2 separate regions of the Homo sapiens genome follow, and region 2 is linked to region 1. Evidence: promoter capture Hi-C in 16 types of primary human blood cells and fetal thymus (Javierre and others, 2016). All regions are on one chromosome and are shown on one strand. Each heading gives the region's core, a stretch centred on a gene start or on the middle of the fragment in contact. The rest is flanking DNA. Distances are from core to core; before and after follow the strand shown. Region 1 holds the start of CR1 (complement C3b/C4b receptor 1 (Knops blood group)). Region 2 overlaps LINC02942 (long intergenic non-protein coding RNA 2942).

Region 1 (7,346 bases), core at 1,354-3,853:
GTGATGGTAGAAAATTGTAGATCTATTTGATTGTTTCTATTTTCTCAATAAAGAAAGAAACAAAGCCATTCACAGAAATTAAGAATGTTGGAGAAGGTGTCAGAAATAAATGTCAAAATAAAAATATGAAATAGTCATTTAGGAGAATGGGAGAATAAATGGATTAGACAAACAATAGTGGGAATGTCAGGCAGAAGTATAATGGTCCATTTGAAATTATTTGTTACTAAAGTAAGGCTAGTCATTGTGGCTATGTGTCTTTTCCAGCCACATTCAGTTTCACAGGTATGAGAGCAAAATAATGGAGAATTGATTCTAACCAGGAATGTTGTTTTGTCTAATGGCTATAATAACCCAAGAGAAGGGTGAGGGAGCTAACAGTGGGTGCAAGATGGTGATTATAATGACAGAGTATGGAATTTAACCTGGTAGTGATGAAAGTGAAGACACAAAGGAGGTGAGAAGCTGAGAGAGATAGCGGTAGGATCAATGGGCTGCAGGCACTGAGACAGACAAAGATTGCTGGATTCAGTTTAACGTTACTAGGGTAAAAGAAAAGAGTTGGATTGGTGGTTAGAGAGTGGGATCATTGAAATCACTGAGAGGTTGAAAGTGACAAGTCTCCGAGCATGCACATGAGCATTAGAGTCAGAGGAGAGTGGAGGACAAGACCACAGGCAGAGAAGAGGTCAAGGCACTGGAAGGCCAGGGATTTGAAAATACTATTGCTGTGAATGTTGAAATCACCAGGAACTGTGGCAGAAGTAACAGTGGAGAAGGTGGCCATGAGCCAGGAGCTCAAACTTTCAAGGAATGAGGGAGAAAGTAGATACTAGGAGATGGATACCAGCAGAAGTGGTAAGGAGTGGCACCTTCTGATAGCATGTGATGTAAAACTGGGGAAATGAGCCTTCTCCTCTTCTCTTTTCCTAAGCCTACTACAATCTGGCTGCTACTCCCATTACTCTGTTGAGAATAACTTGAAATGATGATAGCAAATCCTTAAAAGAATGTCACTGGATGTACTAAAAACTGTGATAAGTGATATGATCAAAGTAGACATTTCTTCCACTAGAATTTTGGGAGGAAGCCTAATGGAAACCAATGCGCACAGAAAGACAAATGCTGTATGTTATTAGTCATATGTGGACTCTAAAAAACTCATCTCATAGAAGTAGAGGGTAGAATACTGGTTACCAGAGGCTGGGGAAGGGAGAGACAATGGGAGATGGAGAGAGATTGGTTAAAGGGCACAGGATCACAGATAGATAGGAGGAATACATTCATCCTTGAATACTTAACCCTCTGCCCTAAATCTGTCAGTCCTACATCCATACTTCTTATTTCAGTAAGTAGCACCACCATTCATTTCTAATCCTGGGGCTAACTCTTTTTTTTTTTTCTTTTCTGAATCATGTCTCCTTTTAATGGTTAAGGAAAACAAGTTTAACATAAAATTAGCAACAACAACAACAACAACAACAAAATCAAGGTTTAAAGTCAAAATTATTTTAAGAGAAAAACCCAGGCAAAATAGCCTACCTACAGGCAGGCAGTACATGTCAGAAGGACAGGCCACCCCCAATAAAAAAGATAAAATATTATTTTTTCTACCTTTTTTAAACTTAATTATTTAATTATTTCTTTCTTTTTTCTTTTTTTTGTTTCTTTTTTTTATTATACTTTAAGTTTTAGGGTACATGTGCACAACGTGCAGGTTTGTTACATATGCATACATGTGCGACGTTGGTGTGCTGCACCCATTAACTCGTCCTTTACATTAGGTATATCTCCTAATGCTATCCCTCCCCCCTCCCCCCACCCCACAACAGGCCCCGGTGTGTGATGTTCCTCTTCCTGTGTCCATGTGTTCTCATTGTGGAAGCTGGAAACCATCATTCTCAGCAAACTACCGCAAGGGGGCTAACTCTTGATTGCTTTCTTCTCACCACCAACCTTAAGAAAGGAAGTAACCAAAATCCAATACATGAGCAACTGTTCATTCCATCTCCAATATCTTTGTTAATTGTCCACTTTATCCACCCAGTCAGGGCCGCCATCAAACCTCACTTGGATGTCGGCAAAAGCTCCCCTGACTGGTCTTCGCAGTCCATTATTGCCCTATTCTAATCTACCTTCCATACTATACACAGATTTACATTTTTTAAATGTGTATCTAATTGTCCCTCCCTTTTAAAAAATCTTACAATGGCATGACGTCTCAATTCAGGGTAAGGAAATTGTTTCTTCACATTCCCTGTACACCGTACACATCGCCTGCAATTGCCCTTCAACACGGAGAGCAGGCATTTCATTAGCTGACCTTCCCACACACATTCTTGCAAAGAGGAAAAGTTAAGCAGGGTGTTTGGAGGCGAGCTGCCATCATCCACCGCCTTTGTCTGGAAGCGCAGGGCCTCACACGCGGGATCCATCGGAAGCCCGAGCATTGTCAAGCTCTGCTGCTGCACCTGGGTCAGCAAGGTGGGCTCTGCCAGCGAAACTCGTTAGAAACAATGCAAATGGGGAGTAAACATGACCTCGCCCATGAAGGGGAAGCTGTGGTCAAAAGCATTTTGTCCCGGAACCCCGCAGCCCTCCCCACACTCTGGGCGCGGAGCACAATGATTGGTCACTCCTATTTTCGCTGAGCTTTTCCTCTTATTTCAGTTTTCTTCGAGATCAAATCTGGTTTGTAGATGTGCTTGGGGAGAATGGGGGCCTCTTCTCCAAGAAGCCCGGAGCCTGTCGGGCCGCCGGCGCCCGGTCTCCCCTTCTGCTGCGGAGGATCCCTGCTGGCGGTTGTGGTGCTGCTTGCGCTGCCGGTGGCCTGGGGTGAGAGGCGGGCGGGCGTGGGGAGGCGCCCGGGCGGACGAGGAACCCGGGGCCCCGCAGAGAACTCGCGTGCAGCGCTGAGCTGCGCTGCTCTGCGCGCCCGGGTCCGAAGGCAGCGCGATGGGTGGGCTGAGCGCGCGACCCGGCAGGGCGGCGGGTGTAGGATCCTTCTGCGCACTGGAGACCCTCGCTGCTTCTGGGTAAGCGTGGAGTTCCCAGGTGCAGGGGCTTAAGTCGTGACGAGCGCAGTGGAAGGCGCAGATGCTGAGCGGGTGCCGCACGAAATTCCTTGCCTTTGTGTATTCACAGCCTCGGCTGGCTATAGCCAAGACGTGGCGTTGATCCTAGTGAAAGGGAACTTGGGGATCCGACAAACCTGAGTTCTGGTCCTAGAAACTTAACTGTGAGGCAACTTAGCACACCTGAGTCTGTTTGCTCTTCTGTAAAATGGGGACACTGGTATCTCTGCATCGTGGAGTTGCTGCCTCAGTGGCATTAAGCCTGTCGAGTATCTAACACAGGGCTATGTGTCCCCGAGTCCATTTCTATCCCCCAACCGTTACCTCTGTACTTTGCTCCCAATGGTGTTTAGACAAGCAGTCCTAGGGATGCAGGTGTTACCTGACAACTGCCCCGCATGGAACTGTCCTCGCCCCCCACACCAAGCCACCACGGCCATCATCACCATGCACTTAATTGACAGCATACTTTAAGACAGATGCATGCCAGGCACTTGCGGATTAGAAGAGCAAGGGAAGCCCCAGAACATGCAATGTAACCGTTGCAGGTAGAAGGGACAGTAGATATGTTTACAGTTCGCATTTTAGTGATGTGTTTAGTACAAAATAACGCCTATTATAATTATTATGGAAATTTTGAGGCCACATCTCTTCCTTTTTCTTAACTTCAAATAGGTAAACATCTTCAGTTAGAACCCTTCTATTATTATTTTTCGGCTCCCCAGAAGTCTTCTTGGTTGCCTAGACTCACTGGCAACATCTCATTTGAAGTGACAGTCTTGGTTGTTTTTGTCCAGCCTATTCCTGACAACTCCGGGTTCGCCCTTCTCTGCCACTAGACATTTTACATTCATTATTTGAGTGTTCCTTCTTCTCTAAAAGAGTAAATAAAATAAAATAAAGTAGAACCAAGTCCCGCAAGAGTTGTTATTAATATTTGATCTCCTTAGGCACCAGAAAGTAACCTGTCAGGTGCAGAGATGTGATAAAACGTACAATCTTATTTTTAGGAGAGAAGCATGCCCAGTAAGTTAAGCAATCTGTTGTCAACGCTTAGGAATTTGTGTCATCTTTGGGAGTACTGGCCCTCTTCTTACTAGAATGTTGTTTTACTTAGCCTATGTTGATTAAGTTACTGTTATAAACAATCCCAGACACTATTAATTGCAAAAAAAAAATTTACTGAGGTTATCACAATAACTTCCAAATGTGAAACAGCCTAAACTAAACTACCTAGAAATTTTGTTGCTGACATAATTTAAATTTTAAAATGCTGATGGATGCTTCCAGTGTGCACGGTCCTTTGGAATTTTAAAGAAGTATAAGAGCTCTGCACCCAAAGTGTATGCATATAGAAGTAGGTGGTGGAGTTTTATGAAATCTACTTATTAGGAAGCCAGCGTTCTGCTTTTTCCAGCCTCTGCTACTTACCAGCTGGTGTCTTGGACCCAGTAAGTTAAGTCACATCACTGACCTTCAGTGTCCACATGTATAAAATGAGCACAACTGACATCCTGATCTCTGAGAGAGACGTTTTGAAAATCAGATGGTGTAATGCATGTGACAGTGTTTTGTAATCTGAAAACCCCCATGCATGTCTGAAAAACCATGACTAAGAAGTCGTGCAAGACTGCAGGATCACCGAAAAGCGAGAAATCTCAACTCCTATGATCAGGAAAGGATGAGTGAAAGGTATATGGCTTTACTAGCACTTAAAGAGTGAATCTAGAAACAGATTGCATACGACAAAAAATAGCAGAGGAGCTAGGATTGTTTTGTTATTATGAGTTACTCACAGTACCCGTAAAGTGGTATAGTGCTATTTGAAAGAGGACTTAGATTAGCTGCAAATAGATATTGCAAATGTAGGACAACCCCTGAAAAATGTGAAAAAAAGAACTATAATTTATATGTTAATAAGTAAGAGAGAATTGCATCATATAAAATGCTCAGTTAAAACAATAAAGATGGCTGGGGACAGTGGCTCATGCCCATAATCCCAGCACTTTGGGAGGCTGAGGTGGGTGGATCACCTCAAGTCAGGAGTTCAAGACCAGCCTGGCCAACATAGTGAAACCCTGTCTCTACAAAAACACAAAAATTACCAGGGCATGATGGTGGGTGCCTGTAGTCCCAGCTACTCGGGAGGCTGAGGCATGAGAATCGCTTGAACCTGGGAGGCGGAGGTTGCAGTGAGTCGAGATCGTGCCATTGCACTCCAGCCTGGGTGACAGAGCGCAACTCCAAATCAAAAAAAAAAAAAAAAGAAACAAACAAACAAAACAAAAAACAATAAAGGGCAGGAAAAGAATGGAAGACAAAAAATAGAAACAGAGAACAAGAGAAAAAAAGCAACAAATAAAAACCAGTAACAAAACTAAAGCAACTATATCAACAATCATTTTGAGTGTCAATGATCGAAATGCACCATTTGAAACAGATCATCAGAGTGGATCAAGAAACAAGACCCAACTATATACTGTGTACAACAAGACCGTTTTAAATATAGACAATATATATGAAAAGTAAATGGATAAAGATATACCATGCTAATGCTAGTCACAGAAAGCAGGAATAGCTGTGTTAATTTCAAACACAGCAGACTTCAGACCAAGAAAAATTATTAGGGATAAAGAGGGGCATCATATAATGATAAAGGGGCCAATTATCCAAGAAGACGTAACAATATCCCATATGTATGCACCTGATGGAGAGACAAAATACGTGAGGCAAAACCCATAGAACTGCAAGGAGAAATAGATGGATTTACTATCATAGTTGGAGACTTCTATGATATCTTTCTGATATCAGAAAAGGTGCTGAAGTCTCCTTATCAGAAATGGGCAGATTCAGCAGGCAGAAAATCCGTAAGGACATACTTGAATTCAACAGCACCATCAATCCACTTGGGTATAATTGACATATATAGATGACTTCATCCACAACAGCAGAGCACATATTCTCCCGCTTACATTCATGGGGATAGACCACATTCTGAGCCATAAAATAGTACACGAATTAAGCTTTACCAGGCAGTGTTTAATATAGGGTGGACTCTGGCGCCCTCACGTGGTCCTCATATAGGATCTGGTTTGGTTATCCCTGCTAGGTAAAGGTGCAAGATAGAAGGGAAGTTCCAATTTGCTTTCTGTGCTTTGTGGTGTATTTTGGTTTACATATGCTCAGATGAGTGGATGTGTGATTTATATTATCTATTTTAATCTAAAATAAGCTTCACATTTGGACAGGTAACATCAAAAGTGTCCTACACAGAAATGCTGGGTGAAGATCCCAGTAATAAAACCAACTCCAGAAAACAAGAAAATGGTAGAGTTGACAATCCCTCTCACCCTCTCCGCAAAGACACATGTATACACATTTTTTGTCAGAGGCATTAAGTAGAAGAAATGCTGTCAGTCTAATCACAACTGATCACAACTCGATGAAACCAAAAAACCTAGAAAGTATCATGAAGACTGTCGAAATAAGCTTTACATTCACTATTGTGAACAGAGAGACTCAATGTGACTGTTTTTTGTCCCGTTAGATGTTAGCTAATGATTGTGCTAAGTCATGATGATTAACAAAGCATTTAAAATATTTATTTTATCTGTGTTACATTTCAAAAATTTATATTGAGGCATATAATTTATGTTCGTGTACATATATAATTTATAAATTTATATATTTGAAAGGGCATGCTCTTTTTTTAAACTGATAGAGGTGCCTAAGCAAAGCAAGTGCAAATCTATTCCTTAAAGGGTAAGTATGCAGAATGGAAAGCAGAGTGTTCTTTGGGTTGACAGCTCATATTGCAACAGACATGAAAGTGATGATGTGTTAATTGTGCATATAGCACAGAATACATCAACTTGCTTTGAATGGAATATCTGAACCAGGAGAATGTGAAAGTGGGCTGAGTCATACAAGACAAAACCCGAAATGAGATAACAATACATACCCACTAGAATGACTAAAATGAAAAAGATTGACCGAGCCAAGTGTTGGCGATAAGGTGGAGTAACTGGAATTATAATATACTGCTATTTGGCAGGTAAAATTATAACATTAACTTTAGAAAATAGTTCAACAGATTCTTAAAACCTTAGACACACACTCAACATTTTACTCTTAGGTTTTTACCCAAGAGAAATGAAATCATATGTCCACACAAAGACTTGTACATGAATTTTCATAGCAGTTTTGTTTGTAATAGCCAACACGTGGAAACAATCCAAATGTCCCTCAACAAGTAAATGGATAAACTAAATT
Region 2 (7,346 bases), core at 3,551-6,050, 240 kb before region 1:
AGTCTCTAGGAAGTTCCAAGCTTTCCCACATCTTCCTGTCTTCTGACCTCTCCAAGCCTCTTGGAAGTTCCAAACTTTCCCACATTTTCCTGTCTTTTTCTGAGCCTTCCAAATTGTTCCAACATCTGCCTGTTACACAGTTCCAAAGTCACTTCCACATTTTTGGGTATCTTTATAGGAGCAACCCACTATCTGAGGTACCAATTTACTGTATTGGTCCATTCTCACGCTGTTAATAAAGACACACCCAAGACTGGGTAATTTATAAAGAAAAGAGTTTTAATTGACTCACAGTTTAGCATGGCTGGGGAGGCCTCAGGAAACTTACAATCACGGCAGAAGGGGATGTAGATACACCCTTCTTTACATGGCAGCAGGAAAAAGTGCTGAGCAAAGGGGGAAAATCCCCTTATAAAACCATCAGATCTTGTGAGAACTCACTATCATGAGAACAGCATGGGGGAACTGCCCCCATCATTAAATTACCTCTTGCTGTGTCCCTCCCATGACATATGGGAATTATGGAAACTACAATTGAAGATGAGATTTGGGTGGGGGTGGGGCCACTTATTGTTATAAACTTTCCTCTTAATACTTTTGCTGCATTCCATGTTTTTGTCTTGCAATCTATTTTGTCTGATATGAGTATAGCTACTCTTGCTCTTTTTTGGTTTCCATCACCACAGAATATCTTTTTCCATCCCCTTATTTTCAGTCTATATGTGTCTTTTTAGGTGAAATGGGTTTCTTGTGTGCAACAGATCATCGAATCCTCTTTTTTTCATCCATTCTGATACTCTGTCTTTTTACTGGAGAGTTTAGTCCATTTACATTCAATATTATTATTGATAAGTAAGGACTTACTTCTGCCTTTTAAAAAATTTGTTTTCTGGTTGTTTTGTGGACTTCTCTTTCTTTTTTCCTTCTTTTCTGTCTTCCTTTTAGTGAAGATGATTTTCTCTGGTGGTATGATGTAATTTCCTGCTTTTTATTTTTGGTGTATACATTGTATTTTTTTTATTATAGGTTGCCATGAGGCTTGCAAATACTGTCTTATATCCCATTATTTTAAGTTGATAACATCTTAACACTGTTTGCATAAATAAACAAGCAAAAAGAAAACTAATAGAAACTCTGTTTTTTAACTTTGTGCCCTGCTTTTTAACTTCGTGTTGTCTCTATTTATATCTTATTGCACTACGTATTGAAAAGTTGTAGTTATTATTTTTGATTGGTTCATCTTTTAGTCTTCTACTTAAGATAAGACTTGTTTACATACCACAGTTACAGTGTTATCATACTGTGTTTTTCTGTGTACTTACTACTACCAGTGAGTTTTGTGCTTTCAGATGGTTTCTTACTATTCATAATGTCCCTTTCTTTCTGGATGAAGTGTTCCCTTTAGCATTTCTTATAGGACAGGCCTGGTGTTGATGAAATCCCTCAGCTTTTGTTTCTCTGGGAAAGTCTTTACATCTCTTCATGTTTGAAGGATACTTTTGCCAGATATACTATTCTAGGGTAAAAGTTGTTTTCCTTCAGCACTTTAAATATGTCATGCCACTCTCTTCTGGCCTGTAAGGTTTTCACTGAAAAGTCTGCTGCCAGACATATTGGAGCTCCACTGTATATCATTTGTTTCTTTCCTCTTGCAGCTTTTAGGTTCCTTTCTTTATCCTTGACCTTTGGGAGTTTGATTATTAAATGCCTTGAGATAGTCTTCTTTGAGTTAAATCTGCTTGGTGTTCTATAACTTTTTTGTACTTTGATATTAATACGTTTCTCTAGGCTTGAAAATTTCTCTATTCTTATCCCTTTGAATAAATGTCCTACTCTTATCTCTTTCTCTACCTCTTAAGGCCAATAACTCTCAGATTTGCCCTTTTGAAGCTATTTTCTAGATCTTGTAGGTGTGCTTTGCTTTTTGTTATTCTTTTTCTCCTCTGACTGTGTATTTTCAAGTAGGCTGTCTGCAAGCTCACTAATTCTTTCTTTTGCTTGATCTATTCTTCTGTTAAAAGATTCTGATACATTCTTCATTGTCAACTGCATTTTTCAACTCCAGAATTTCTTCCTAATTCTTTTTAATTATTTCTATATCTTGGTTAAATTTATCTGACAGAATTCTGAATTCCTTCTTTGTGTTTTCTGTAATTTCTTTGGGATTCCTCAAAACAGGTATTTTGAAAACTTTTCCTGAAAGGTCACATATCTCTGTTTCTCCAGAATCAGTCCCTGGTAACTTACTTAGTTCATTTTGTAAAACCATGTTTTCATGGATGGTCTGGATGCTTGTGGATGTTTGCCAATTTCTGGAAATTGAAGAGTTAGGTATTTATTGAAGTCTTTGCATTCTGGGCTTGTTTGTGCCTGTCCTTGGGAAGGCTTTTGAGATATTCAAAAGGACTTGGGTGGTGTAACCTAAGCCATGTCTGCATTAAGGGGGACCCCAAATCCACTAATACTGTAGTTATTGCAGACTCATAGAGGTACCACCTTGGTGGTCTTGGATAAGATCTGGAAGATTCTCTGGATTACCTGTTCTCTTTTCTTATTTTCTCCCAAACAAACAGGGCCTCTCTCTTTCCATGCTGAGCTGTCTGGAGCTGGGATTAAGGTGACACAAGCACCTCCATGGCCACCATCACTACTGTGCTGGGTCAGGCCTGAAGCCATCACAGCACTAGGTCTCGCCCAAGGCTCACTGTAATGACTACCTTTCTACTGCCTATGTTTGGTGAAGGCTCTAGGGCTCTACAATCAGCAGGTGATGACTCCAGCCAGGCTTGTGTCCTTCTCTTCAGGGAAGCAAGTTTTCGACACCCTTGGTAGGTATAGAGATGGCATCTAGGAGTCAGGGACTGGAGTTGAAAACCTTAGGAATCTACTTGGTATTCTATTGTCCTGCAGCTGAGCTGACACTCAAACCACAAGACCCAGTCCTTCCCATTCTTCTCTCCCCTTTCCATAGGCAGAGGAGCTTCATTCCACGGCTACCACCACCACAGGCCCACAGTGAGTCCTGCCAGGCTACCACCAATGTTCACTAAAGGCACAAGGACTCTTCAGTTAGCTTGTGGTGAATGCCGCCAGGCCTGGGACTCACTTTTCAGGGAAGTGGGCTCCACTCTGGTCCAGGGAATGTCCAGAAATGCCATCCAAGAGCCAAGGCCTGGAAATAGGGACCCCCAAGAGCCTGCTTGATGGTTTGCCCCTGTGGTTGAGCTGGTATGTAAGGTACAAGACAAAGTCCCCTTTACTTTTCCTTCTGCTTTTCTCCAGCAGGAGGAGTCATTCCATAGCCACAACAACTGGGAATGTGCTGGGTCTCACTTGAAGCCAGCATGTCTCAGAATCTTACCCAAGGCCCAGAGTGTACTACCTGGGTCTCACTACTGATTATTCAGGGCCCAAGCCTCTTTAGTCAGCAGGTGATGAGGTACTGCTGGAACTGGGTCCTTCTCTTCAAGGCAGCAGTTTCCCTTCTGGCCCAGGGTATGTCTAGAAATGTCATCCAGGAGCTAGAGCCTCGAGTGGGGGCTTCACAATTCTGACTGGTACCCTATCTTACTGTAGCTGAACTTGTATCCAAGATGCAAGACAAAGTCCTTATTACTCTTGCCCTTCTTCTCCTCAAGCAAAAGCAAGAGGTCTCTTTTGGAGCCACGAGCTGTGCTGTCTGAGGTTTGGGGAGGGGTAGCACAAGCCCTGGCTGCCCTGGCTGATGTCCCAGTAGGTCACATGCCCCCCAGTTCCACGGGCTCTGAGCCCAGCTCAGAACTAGGACTTGCCTTGGAGTTGCAGTCCTTGTGGCCCAGATTACATTTCAAGTTTATTTAGGCCTCAAAGCACTTTAGCCTGTGGTGGCAAAGCTTGCTGGAACTCAAATTCCAACTACTGGGATGGGTGATTCCCATCTGGTGAGGGCTCCTCAAACTGCTTCCTCTATAGGTGGGCATCTGCTGAGTTCAGCCTTATTTTGCTTTTCGCTGTGACAGGGGAGCACTGAGGTCAATGCAAAGTCTCACAGTTGCTGCATTCTCCCTCTCCCAAGCACACAGATTCTCTCTCTGCCTCATGTGGCCACTGCCAGGGTATGGGGTAGTGGTGTCAGCAATTCAAGACTGTCTTTCCTATTGTCTTTGGTGCCTCTGTCAGCAGTAGGAAGTTAAAACCAGGTACTGTGAGTGTTCACCTAGTTTTTGGTTCTCACGAAGATGCTTTTATTGTGTAGATAGTGTTAAATTTGGTGCTTCTGTAGGAGGGACAATCAGTGGAGATGTCTATTCAACTATCTTGCTCCTCCCCTCTTTCCAGATCTAATTTTTAATTTTTTATTGCTATACTATGGTTGTACACATTTGGGGGTGCATGTAATATTTTGACACATGTATATAATGTGTAATTATTCAATCATTGTAATTGGGATATCTATCACCTTAAACATTTATCTTTGTGTTGAAAACATTACAGTTCTCTTCTAGCTATTTGGAAATATACAATAAATTATAGCTAACTATCAAATACCAGAAATTACTCCTTCTATCAATCGTATTTTTGTATCCCTTAACCAACTTCTGTTCATCAGTCTCCCCCTACTTCCCTTGCAATGTAATTTCTGACATTCCTGACTGTCATATCTAATCACTTCTAATCAGAATAACAATGACATTAAAAATGTCATTTAGGCCAGGCACGGTGGCTCACACCTGTAATCCCAGCACTTTCGGAGGCCGAGACGGGCAGATCACCTGAGATCAGGAGTTTAAGACCAGCCTGGACAACATGGCAAAACCCTGTCTCTACTAAAAGTACAAAAATTAGTTGGGCATGGTGGCGAGTGCCCGTAATCCCAGCTACTCAGGAGGCTGAGGCAGGAGAATTGCTTGAACCCAAGAGGTGGAGGTTGCAGTGAGCTGAGATCACGTCACTGCACTCCAGCCTGAGCGACAAGAGAGAGACTCCGTCTAAAAAAAAAGAAAAAGCCCTTCAGATTTAGAGTTACTAGTGAACCTTTTCAAAGAATCTAAGTATATATTCTAGATGTGGCACAGAGTGAGAAGTCTCCTTATGTGCTTTATATTAAGATTCTGTCAGTTGATGAATAAATATATGATATTTGTATTACTATAAATATGTCCTATATGTACACTACTATGATTAATGATGACTGTTAAAGCTATTTATTGTATGTGCAAAAAAACTTTTTAATATTTAAATAATAGGAAAATTGTTTCACAGTTAATATAAATATCAATAGTGCATTATTTAGAGAACATTAAGAAAAACATAATTTTTCTGCCAACAAACATCTAATAAAATTAAATAATTGTACATGTCAACATACAAATACCTGTAGCATTTCTATACAACAATATCAAACTAGCTGAAAAGGAAGTCAAGAAACCATTTACAATTGCAACAAAAAAATAAAATACCTAGGAATAAATGTAACTAAGGAGGTGAAAGACATCTATAAGAAAAATTACAAAACACATTGATGGAAGAAATTGATGACACAAAGAATTGGAAAAACATCCCAAGCTCATGAATTGGAAGAATTAATATTGTCAAAATCACCATACTGCACAAAGTAATCTAAAGATTCAGTGAAACCCGAGCAATAAATATCAGTGATATTCTTCACAGAAATAGCAACAACAATCTAAAATTCACATGGAACTAAAAAAGAGCCCTAGTAGCCAAAGCAATCCTGAGCAAAAAGAACAAAGCTTGAGGCATCATGTTATCTGATTTCAAAATATAATACAAGGCTATAGTAACAAAAACAGCATGGTGTTGGTATAAAAATAGACCTGTGGAAGAGAATAGAGAACCCAGAAATAAAGCCACATATTTGCAGCTAACTCATCTTTGACAAAGCTGACAAGAATTTACACTGGGGAAAAGACATCCTCTTTACTAAATGGTGCTGGGTAAACTGGATTGCCACATGCAGAAGAATGAAACTGAATACCTATCTCTCACCATATTAAAGAATCAACTCAAAATGGATTAAAGACTTAAATGTAAGACCAAAATCTATAAAAATACTAAAAGAAAATCTAGGGAAAAGTCTCCTGGATATTGGCCTAGGCAAAGAATTTGTAACCTCAAAGAACCTCAAAGTACAGGCAGCAAAAACAAAAATAGACAAATGGGATTTAATCTAACTAAAAAGCTTCTACACAGCAAAAGAAAAAATCAACGGAGTGAAGAGACAACTTGTAGAATGAGAGATAATATTATTCATCCAACAGAGGACTAGTATCCAGAAAACACAAAAACATCAATACAAAGAACACAAATACAAAGAACAGCAAAACCTCCTGAAATAATCCCATTAAGAAATAGGCAAAAGATCTGAATAAGTACTTATCAAAAGAAGACATACAAATGGACCAGGCATGGTGGCTCACGCCTGTAATCTCAGCACTTTGGGAGGCCAAGGTGGGCGGATCACCTGAGGCTAGGAGTTCGAGACCAGCCTGGCCAACATGGTGAAACCCGTCTCTACTAAAAATACAAAAATTAGCTGGGCGTGGTGGTGGGCACCTGTAATCCCAGCTACTTGGGAGGCTGAGGCAGGAGAATCACTTGAACCCAGAAAGTGGAGGTTGCAGTAAGCCAAGATTGCGCCACTGCACTCCAGCCTGGGTGACAAAGTGAGACTCCATCTCAAAAAAAAAAAAAAAAAAAAAAGACATACAAATGGCCAGCAGTTATATGAACAAATGCTCAACACCACTAAGCATCAGAGAAATGCAAATCAAAACCACAATGAGATATTATCTCACCCACTTTAAATGACTATTATTAAAAAGTCAAAAAATAACAGATGTTGGCAAGGATGCAGAGAAAAGGGAACTCTTTTTTTTTTTTTTTTTAGATGGAGTCTTGCTCTGTTGACAGGCTGGAGTGCAGTGGCACAATCTCAGCTCACTGCAACCTCCGCCTTCTGGGTTCAAGCGATTCTCCTGTCTCAGCCTCCCAAGTAGCTGGGATTACAAAGATGCACCACCACACCCAGCTAATTTTTTGTATTTTAGTAGAGATAGGGGTTCACCATGTTGGCCAAGACAGTCTTGATCTCCTGACCTCATTATCCACCCGCCTGGGCCTCCAAAAGTGCTGTGATTACAGGCGTGAGCCACCGTGCCTGGTTGAAAAGGGAACTCTTATACACTGCTGTTGGAAATGTAAATTAGTATAGCCATTATAAAAAACATTATAAAGGTTTCTTAAAAAATTAAAAATAGAGCTACCATATGATACAGCAATCCCACTACTGGGTATTTATCCAAAAGAAAGGAAATCAGTATATCAAAGGGATACTGGCACCTCCA

Evidence for each region. Contacts are between HindIII fragments. The CHiCAGO score rates a contact against its expected background, and 5 or more counts as called.
Region 2: a fragment that was not itself captured here is called in contact with the fragment with the promoter of CR1 in region 1 in 1 of 17 cell types (M2 macrophages); the score reaches 5.0 in M2 macrophages.

What each region holds. Positions count from the first base shown.
Region 1 is chr1:207,493,554-207,500,899 of GRCh38, forward strand. It overlaps CR1 (complement C3b/C4b receptor 1 (Knops blood group)), which reads left to right and starts at 2,604. Exons shown (of 47, transcript NM_000651.6): 1 at 2,604-2,835. The coding sequence starts at 2,715. RefSeq lists an enhancer at 6,007-6,066. The HindIII fragment of the contact is 13,119 bases long and covers 1-6,095 here.
Region 2 is chr1:207,256,275-207,263,620 of GRCh38, forward strand. All of the region lies in intron 2 of LINC02942 (long intergenic non-protein coding RNA 2942), which reads left to right. All of the region lies in intron 1 of LOC107985251 (a long non-coding RNA gene), which reads right to left. Among named protein-coding and RNA genes, the nearest start is that of LINC02942, 20 kb to the left of the region's middle. The HindIII fragment of the contact is 1,860 bases long and covers 3,871-5,730 here.